Linked DNA regions of Homo sapiens: all the other regions are linked to region 1. Evidence: promoter capture Hi-C in 16 types of primary human blood cells and fetal thymus (Javierre and others, 2016). All regions are on one chromosome and are shown on one strand. The core of a region is centred on a gene start or on the middle of the fragment in contact, and the rest is flanking DNA. Distances in the headings are between cores, read along the strand shown.

Region 1 (3,205 bases), core at 51-2,550:
GGAAATAAAGACAAACAGAAATGGCAGAAGTAACATTATCAGAACCTGTTGTTGAGCGAGTAGAGTAAGAATAACGGAGGTATGGATGAAAATTCAAATTTCTGAATTGACTGTGTAGTCCGTGGTTCCTCCTCCCTCCCTTTTTAAACTGCAGGTCATGCTTAAGTATTTGCCTTTTAAATCTACAGCCACATCTTTTAAGCTTCAGGAAGTATCTTGTTGACAGTGTGCACACTCCTTAACTTTATGAACCCCTCCACCTTTATCTTAAAAAAAATTGAGTTCTAAAGCTTAAATCTCTCATTAAAATGTCTCACCACTTTGTTTCTTTCTGGATAGTTATGTTTTTGTCGCCACCTGAACTAATGGGTTGCACAAAAACAAGGAACATGCTACCTACGTTTTGTAATTTAAGTAAAAGACAAATTGAGTTATTACAACACAACATTCTCGCATCAGATATACTAATCTGCACATACTGCAGAAAATTACCACTAATAAACACTGTAAAAAAGTGTTTTTGTTTTTTTTAACAAAAACAGATAAGGTCCCATGTGGCACAAAAGCTTGAAAAGCTGGTTAAAAACCACAAAGTTATTAAAACACCGTCATATCCAAAACCGCAAATGCTGCAATGAAATCGGAATTATCTATCATAAAACTCCACAGTATGCTATAATTTCATTCATTCATTCAATGTTCATTCTATGCCTAAGACTGACACATCGCTAAAGCTCCGGGGTAGACCCCAAGGCCCTTCCACGCAGTCAAGACCCCACTAGGTCCAAATAATGCCTGAACTATACGTGGATTCTGGAAACCTCACAGCACAGAACCCATCCCGCCCTCCACTTCACCAGGCCGCGCTGGGCCCGGGTACCGCGGCGAGAGGCCTACGACGCCGGGCGGCTAGATTAAGTGCTTCTCTCCAGCCCCACTGGGAAGGAAGCCAGAGGGAAGAGACAGGATGGGGACACCAAGGGAGCTTTGCGGGGGTGGGGGTGGGGGTGAATCCGGCCCAGGAAGGCGAGAAAGTGCGGTTACCTAGACGCTCCCGTTCCGAAGGAGAAAACGCCGCCTGTGCTGGTCCCGCCGGCGGCCACGGTGGTGGAGCCCAGAGTCCCGGACCCGAAGGAGAACCCTGTGGACATGTCTGGCCAGGGCTCGACGCCGTCAGCAAGGCGAAATGGGTCTGGGACACTTCTCTCGCCTCAAAGCCGAGGCGGGCCGGGCAGCATCTCTCTCGCCCGGCACGGACCTGGCGGGAACTTCCAGCCCCAACGGCGGCGAAGGCAAGGCTGAGGGGGTGGAGCAACCACGCAAAAGTACGCCCGGCGCTCGCCGCGCGCACGTAGCCCGCCGGAAGTGTAACCGTCACGCAATGAGCCCTGGTACGTGAGTGGGGGACGGCGAGCCGCGCAAGGTACGCTGGGACCAGGCGAGAATAGGCGTACTGCCTAATCTCTTAAAGGAGTAGGCTCCCAGAGTTTAAAAACAGTAAAACCATTTCTGTCATTTTTTAGTTCTTCTATCGTAGCATCTGTACTGACATAATCCGCACTTTAGGGTGATGAATGTCAATTGCTACTTCTATCTAGCCTCCTGCCAAAATTGATGCTCAGAATCGCAGAATCGGGGAGGTCCCTCCTGAGCATCTCTAAGCTCCCCACTCAGAAAAGGAGGCGGCTTCGGGCTTTCGTTGGCTGCCGCCCCATCCCTAAGAAGGAAGGGGAGCGTGTCTGCTTCCTGAAGGTTCGGAAATCAATCGAAAATAATCCATGCAACCGTCCCACGACGTGAGCCCCACCCCTGCGCCCCAGGCCTCGCGGAGCCAGTTGGTCGCAGTTGTTGCGAGCCCGACGCCCAGCCCCGAAGGGGGCCCAGAAGAGCGTCCCAGGCGTCCGTGGGGTGGCCGGCTGTGGTCCTGGCGCCCAGAAGTGGCCAGGCCCGCTGGATTTCCTGGGATGCGGTCAAGTCCACAAATACTGTCCGTGCATCCTGATGCTGGAGGGCGGGACCTTGGGCCGAGCGAGTGTGGCTCCGCCAGAAGGGCCCTCGGACACAACCGGTGCTGGAGGAACTACAAAGTGGAAGGATTAGGAAACGCACAGGAACATGTACGAAAGAAGGCGAAATGTGAGGTGTAACTTACATTTCTAGGATAACTCAAGAAAAATTCGCGTTTAAAGAGAACCTCTCTGGCGAAGCATCAGGAAAGGCTTCCTGGTGGTGGTGCATTCGAGGGTTGTCATCATAGTGTTAGTTTTTATTTTTCCCTCAGGGATTGTTACATTACTCCCCCAAATGGTTTTCCTACTCGTGATCTCTAACAAAATCCATCCCATAAGCAACCCCCGGATTTATGATCTAAAAAGCCCAGTGGCTCTTTAGTTTGGCACTTGATGACCTCCGTATGATTAGTCTTTCTAACCTCATCTCACAGTTCTCCCTAATTCAGTACTTTAATCTTCCGTTGAGCTTGGGCATTGCCACCAGCTGTGGACTGAACTATTTCCCTCCTCCCCCAATCCATATGTTAAAGCCCTACCCCACCCCAATATGTTGGTATTTGGAGATGGAGCCTTTGGGAGGTAATTCAATTTAGATGAGGTCACCTTGGTGGGTCGCCCATGGCGAGATTAGTGCCCTTATGAGAAAAAACAACGAAGAGCTTGTTCTCCTCTGTGTGCCATGTGAGGACAGAGCAAGAAGGGGCTTTCACCTGGAACCCAAACTGCCCCATCTTTATCTGGGACTTAGCCTCCAGAATTGAGAGAAGTAAATGTCTGTTGTTATAGCCACCTCAGTCTATGGTATTTTGTTGTATCAGCCAAGCAGACTAATACACCACCTCTGTGTTTGTATAATTAAAAAGAAACGTACATTTTATTTTGTTTTTTAAATTTAATTTATATTTTACTTTATTTTGAGACAGAGTCTCGCTCTGTTGCCCAGGCTGGAATACAGTGGTGCCATCTCGGCTCACTGCAACCTCCGTCTCCTGAGTTCAAGCGATTCTCCTGCCTCAGCCTCCCAAGTAACTGGGATCACAGGCGCACGCCACCACGCCCGGTTAATTTCTGTATTTTTCAGTAGAGATGGGTTTTCACCATGTTGGCCAGGCTGGTCTTGAACTCCTGGCCTCAAGCGATCTGCCCACCTCGGCCTCCCAAAGTGCTGGGATTACAGGCGTAAGCCACTGTGC
Region 2 (3,228 bases), core at 108-2,607, 1.9 Mb before region 1:
AGCTTAAACCTTCATGCAAGTCCGAAAGGAGTCGTGCCTCTCAACCTCATCCTGTCAGAATCAAAATAAAATACTTTTACAAAGCTAGTGTAGTGGAGTGGACACAGGTGTGGCTCCTGGAGCTAGGTTCAAACCTTGGTTCCATTGCTTACTAGTTAGTTGTGCAACCCTGGAAAAGTTATCTCTGTGCCTTGGTTTCCTTATCTAAACGTGGGGATAATCGTAACACCTGCTTCATTAGGTTGTTGCAAGGATTAGATAAAATGTTTACACCCCTTCTTGGACCACTCCCCATCACTTTCTTTCCCAACCCATCACAAGCAAAGCTTCACGAATCATTTATGTGAGCTGGTATAAACCCACATGCCTTCAGGGAGAAAAGAGGTAGCAGAACTATATAATAAAGTGACTTGTGTTAAACTGTTGAACAGAATGAGTAAAGGAAAATTTGAGGCAGACTGTAAGGAACTGGAGAGTGTAGGATTGTGTAACAGTATGCAAATGAAAACATTATAAAATGCTGTGCTGACTAAATGGATTAAGGTTGGACATAGTTCATTTACTTGCCTGGTCCCTGAGGCATCTGGGCATATTTTGTAGTTTGCATATTCAAGAAGGCCGAAAAGGAGTCAGTTGTACACAAACTCATCTTTTGCTAGGCACAGGGAAGCTCTTTGTAAAGCTGATTACACAGCTGTGTAAAGCTGTGTTCTAAAGCCAGATTACCCTTTCCAAGCTCAGGGTGCAAAAGTGTGGAGTTTCAGCCAAACTTATTCTCCAACTGCATTACATATGGTAAAGAACACTCAGTACAACACCTAGCACATAGATTCAAGAATGTCTCTTTTATGTTTGTGTCTCTCCAATCGACCATAGGCTGTGGAGACAAGGCATTGTGAGGCTCTGTGATTAGGTTTCATGACTTTACCTGTGAATTTAGATGGCTCCAACATCAACTAGACATGACTCCAGATAATTCTATCAGAAATCCATTTTACTTTTTAAAATTTAATTTAATTTAATTTTTGAGACGGAATCTTACTCTGTCGCCCAAGCTGGAGTGCAGTAGCATGATCTCGGCTCACTGGTTTTTCCCAGGTTCATGCGACTCTCCTGCCTCAGCCTCCCTAGTAGCTTGGATTACAGGTGCTCGCCACCATGCCCAACTAATTTTTGTAGTTTTAGTAGAGATGGGCTTTCTCCATGTTGGCCAGGTTGGTCTCAAACTCCTGACCTCAAGTGATCCGCCCGCCTTGGCCTCCCAAAGTGCTGGGATTACAACAGGCGAGAGCCACTGTGCTGTATTTTTGAGATACTGTTTCAGTCTGTCGCTCAGGCTACAGTGCAGTGGTTCAATCATGGCTCACTGCAACCTGGATATCTCGGGCTTAAGTTATCCTCTTACTTCGCCTCACAAGTAGCTGGGACTATAGGTATGCGCCACCATGCACCACGTATTTATTTTTATTTTTAGTAGAGACAAGGTCTCACTATGTTGCCCAGGCTGGTCTTGAACTCCCTGGTCTCAAGGAAGTTGGAAGCCATCCTCCTGCCTCAGCCTCCCAAAGTGCTGGGATTACAGGCCTGATCCACTGTGCCCAGCCTAGAAATTTATTTATTTATTTATTTTTGAGAGAGTCTCACTCTGTCACCCAGGCTGGGGTGCAATGGCACAATCCCAGTTCACTGCAATCTCCACCTCCAGGATCCAATCTATTCTTATGCCTCAGCCTCCTGAGTAGCTGGGATTACAGGCGTACACTGCTACGCCTGGCTAATTTTTGTATTTTAGTAGAGACGGGATTTCACCACGTTGGCCAGGCTGGTCTCCAACTCCTGACCTCAAGTGATCCACCTGCCTCGGCCTCCCAAAGTGCTGGAATTACAGGTGTGAGCCACCATACTCAGCCTAGAAATTCATTTTAGAAAGGCCTTGTTCTTATATAAACTTATATGTAAAGCCAGTGGCTTTTGTTCCTGTGACATGTTCGGATTAATGGACAAGGAGGCATATGGGTGGTTAGCGGGATGGAGGCAGGTCTAAAATTCTGGCACATCAGACCTGTTTGCTGGAATAGAACAGCAAGTGGGAAGGACAGGATGACCACAGCTATTTATCAGGACGGGCACACAGATGGGCATGGTGACACTCGGACAAGGCCCAGGTAGGCCCTAGAGGTCTAAGATGTAGAAACCCTTGTCCAAACAGGGGGTAGAAAAGAGCAAGAAAGAATTCAGGTGGGTGATGCTTGCAAGTATAGAGAGGAAAGCCCCTGGCTGGGGTATCAGGGCTCTTGGCTTCCATGGAGGCAGGCGCTTGGAGATCCAGTCCGGCTACCATGGGGCTTGGCTATATTCAATCTGCATTCCCCCCCCAAGCAAGCTTATAATGGAATCACTATGGAAACAGTATTCATGTACCAGAAGTCTATTTTTCACTTAAATTTTGTTTGAATGCTTTTTGTTTTTGAGTGCTTTGAACCCTTGAGGTGAGGCATTTCTGATTTTACAGCTCTGCCTGAATTCAGATCCTCAACCCCACTGAATTAGGGGAACCCAGAAAAGTACCCCATCACGAGTTCAATCAGAAAATATCACAAGCTTTCTAACATAATAATTTATGAAGTTATTCTACTCACTTGAACTACTTTCTCAAATAGGAAAAAATAAAGCTGAGCTGCCAGGCATGAAGAACAGGGTGCAAATATGAATTTTATAAAAGGAGAAAGAGGAACTACCCATGCCAGTAGCCAGCACTGCCTAAGGATTTCTCACAGGGCATTTTTCTTGCTTGCGGGCTTCCTGTCTCTGGTAATATCATCATCACTGCTGGCTTGAGATCCTCCCTATTTTGCAGCTCAATGTGCAGATATTTAGAAGCCTATTATAAATTTATCGCCAACAGGCCAACAGGTTTCGCTCCTCTCCTTCCCCCATTACTTATCTTTCTTCTTAATTCAAAGAGTTAAACATGTGTAATTTGTTCTTTGCCTCTTCATTTTTGTTTAATTATTTTGTCTTTTTCTAAGTTGTGTTTGACTCCGGTGATTCATCCAATATACGTAAAAAGAAACAAACCAAGTGCTTGGGACGCATACCCGGGTTATCTTAACTGTGCAGAGCAGGTTTCCTCCCACTCCGCCCGTAGTTACCCAGATCATCGCCTCCGTTTTCTGTTTAGGCAGCGGGGGCTCGCCGTCCCCTCGCCCGCGGTGGGTGTCGCAGCTG
Region 3 (3,191 bases), core at 79-2,578, 1.9 Mb before region 1:
TGCTCCTCCAGGGATCCCACTTTGAGAACCACTGTTTTCTCCATCTATGTAAACACACTGTATATGTTTTTTTCTAAATTGTTTGAGAGTGGGTCACACATATCTTTTCCTCTTTAGGCCATATACTGTACTGATTTGTGTCTCCTAAGAATGAGGACATTCTCTCATATAACCACAGTACATTTATCAAATTCAGGAAACAAAACTGATACAATGCTTATATCAATTTTTTTTTTTTTTTTTTTTTTTGGACAGAGTCTTGCTTTATGGCCCAGGCTGGAGTGCAGTGGCATGATCCTAGCTCACTACAGTCTCCACCTCCTAGGCTCAAGCCATCCTCCCACCTCAGCCTCCCAAGTAACTAGGACCACAGGTGCCACCACACCCAGCTAATTTTTTAATTTCTTATAGCGAGGGGGTTTCACCATGTGGCCCAGGCTGGTCTTGAACTTCTGAGCTCAAGTGATCTGTCTGCCACAGCCTCCTAAAGTGTTGGGATTGCAGGCTCCTGGCTGGTATCACATTTACAATCCACATTTCAAATGTCAGTTGTCCCAATAATGTCCTTTATGGCATTTTTTTTTTACATGATCCAGTCAGAAATCATATGTTGTATTTATTAATAGTCGCTGTGTCTCTCTTAGCTTTTAATCTGAAGCACTTCAGCCTTTTCTTGCCTTAGGTGACATTCATGTTTCTCTAGTCTGCAGGTCAGTAATATTTGCCCTGGTATAAGCAGCGTTTTCTCCCTTATGTGCCATCTGTTTGCACGAAGATCACGCAAATATCTTGCTTCTAAACAAACTTTCCCTCCTGGATTAAGTATTCATCGTGATTCTTGCAATTTTTACTGTGATGGTTACAAAGCGGTGATTTTCCAGCTCCACTTCTACTTCCACATTAAGGAAAGGGTTTCCTTTTTTCCCTATTCATTTATTTTATTCGTTCATTTACATGTCTAAATGTTAACCTCTTTTCCCTTTCCCTCTAAACCAATTGTGTTCCTCAGGGATGTCAGAGTCTCCTTTAAAGGACAAGGTGGAAAGTGAGAGGGTAGAGCCCAGGCCCCTCACCCTTGCTGCTCCCCGAGGAGTGCCACATTTATCTGCTTCCTATAGTAAGGTTCATTTACAAAACAAGCGGTCTGCTACTTTTTTAAAAGTTTGAAAACCACCATCTTAAATAAATATCCTCTGTGCCCATTACAAAAAAAGAAAAAAAGAATGCTTAATCTTTTTCTATAGACAGTTGAGAATCTGACTCGTTTTAACCAAAGGCATGACAGTGGTAGTGATAGCTGATATTTCCTGAGGGCTCATTCTATGTGCCAGTAAGCACTTACAAATATTATCTTACTTAATTCTTATGAAACTCCTAGGAGGTAATGGGTGGTACCTATTCCTATGCATTTAGAAGATTCTACAGTGTACAAAAAGTCGCTCTTCAGGTTTTTCCATTGCTGTTTTGGGATTGAGCTTTCTCAAGTCACCTACGTCAGCTGGCATTTGTCCATCTGTTTTTCAGCTTTCAAAATGTTGCTGTTATTTTTTATCTTCCCCATGCATATGGTTTAGGTCGTTAGACACACACACACACCCACACACACACACACACACGCACACACACCCAATGGGATTCTCGGAGGTAACAAAATTAGATGAGGGTATTTAATCCATCATTTTAATCTGGAGCCCCTAGGGATGAATTATTTAGATGCAGGATACCTAATAATTAGTTTAACTCATATTGTTTTAGCTGAATTGGATGTTGAAGGCATTCCAATACTAAATGAGGAGTTGGGTTACGGAGTGGACATTGGGACATTGTTTTTTAGCTACTCAAACTCATTCCTTCTTCCTACTAGACCTCCATTTACTTGGGGGCCTTAACTCCTGTCCCATGTGCATATTCTTAGGAAGGTACTCCCTACCCACATCAAAACTAAGGGGACCAGAATTGCACTCTCCCTGCTCCAATAAACATAGGGTAGACATCCCTTCCAGTCAACCCCCTCCCTGACTAAAAACAATATTCTGATTTCTGTTTGATTCATTGATTGAGATGGGATCTTGCTATGTTATATAGGCAGGTCTTGAACTCCTGGCCTCTAATGATCCTCCCACCTTGACCTCCCAAAGTGCTGGGGTTACAGGCATGAGCCAGCCTGCCTGGCCAATATTCTGATTTCTATAACCATAAGTTAGTTTTGCCTAATCTTGGATTTCCTATGAATGGTACCATACAGTTTGTACTTTTTTTTCCTGTGGCTCTTTTTGTTTAGCTGAATGTCGTTGAGAATCAATCATATTGCATGTACTAGTAGTTCAATTCTTTTTATTGTGAAAGTAGTATTCCACTGTAGAATATATCACAATTTATTTTTCTGTTCTCCTCTTGATGGCAGTTTGAGTTGTACATAATTTTTGTGGGTCTCGCTGTGTTGCTCATGCTGGAGTTCAGTGGTGTGATCATAGCTCACTACAGCCCCAAACTCCTGAGCACAAACAATCCCCCTATCTCAGCCTCCAGAGTAGCTGGGACAATGGATGTGCGCTACTGAGCCCAGCTTAGGAGTTACATTCCTTGATCGTAAGGTAGGTGTATTAGTCTGTTTTCACGCTGCTGATAAAGACATACCTGAGACTGGGTAATTTACAAAAGAAAGAGGTTTACTTTGACTTATAGTTCCATGTGGCTGGGGAGGCCCCACAATTATGGTGGGAGGTAAAGGCACGTCTTACATCACAGCAGGCAAGAGAGAATGAGAAAGATGCAAAAGTGGAAACTCCTGATAAAAACATCAGATCTCATGCGACTTATTCACTACCATGAGAACAGTATGGAGTAAACCACCTCCATGATTCAAATTATCTCCCACCGGGTCCCTCCCACAACATGTGGGAATTATGGGAGTACAGTTCAGGATGAGATTTGGGTGGGGAACGCGGAGGCAAACCATATCAGTAGGTGTATGTCTAACTTCATAAAATATTGCAAAATGGCTTCCCAAAGTAAATCCCAATTTTATTAGCATTTTTCTCTCAAGAGGATAAGGAATTTATTTTTACTATAGCCTTTTAAAATAGGTTTGTGTCATTAGCTCCAATGTACAGATCTGAAAAACAAAGTGGCTTCCTGATTCACTAATGGTCAATGTGTCTCTAGTTTGAGACCGTTAATATAAAGAGAAT

What was found. Contacts are between HindIII fragments. The CHiCAGO score rates a contact against its expected background, and 5 or more counts as called.
Region 2: a contact is called between a fragment that was not itself captured here and the fragment with the promoter of NUP58 in region 1, in 2 of 17 cell types (total B cells and total CD4 T cells). The highest score is 6.4, in total B cells.
Region 3: a contact is called between a fragment that was not itself captured here and the fragment with the promoter of NUP58 in region 1, in 1 of 17 cell types (neutrophils). The highest score is 5.9, in neutrophils.

What each region holds. Positions count from the first base shown.
Region 1 is chr13:25,299,720-25,302,924 of GRCh38, reverse strand. NUP58 (nucleoporin 58) reads right to left here and starts at 1,300. Exons shown (of 16, transcript NM_014089.4): 1 at 1,045-1,300. The coding sequence starts at 1,151. RefSeq lists enhancers at 1,005-1,054, 1,165-1,244, 1,405-1,644. The HindIII fragment of the contact is 2,784 bases long and covers 569-3,205 here.
Region 2 is chr13:27,172,243-27,175,470 of GRCh38, reverse strand. It overlaps USP12-DT (USP12 divergent transcript), which reads right to left and starts at 3,212. Exons shown (of 2, transcript NR_046548.1): 1 at 3,099-3,212. RefSeq lists an enhancer at 2,884-3,073 and a silencer at 3,134-3,228. The HindIII fragment of the contact is 2,057 bases long and covers 329-2,385 here.
Region 3 is chr13:27,241,223-27,244,413 of GRCh38, reverse strand. No RefSeq gene overlaps it. Among named protein-coding and RNA genes, the nearest start is that of LINC00412, 5.6 kb to the right of the region's middle. The HindIII fragment of the contact is 3,762 bases long and covers 1-3,191 here.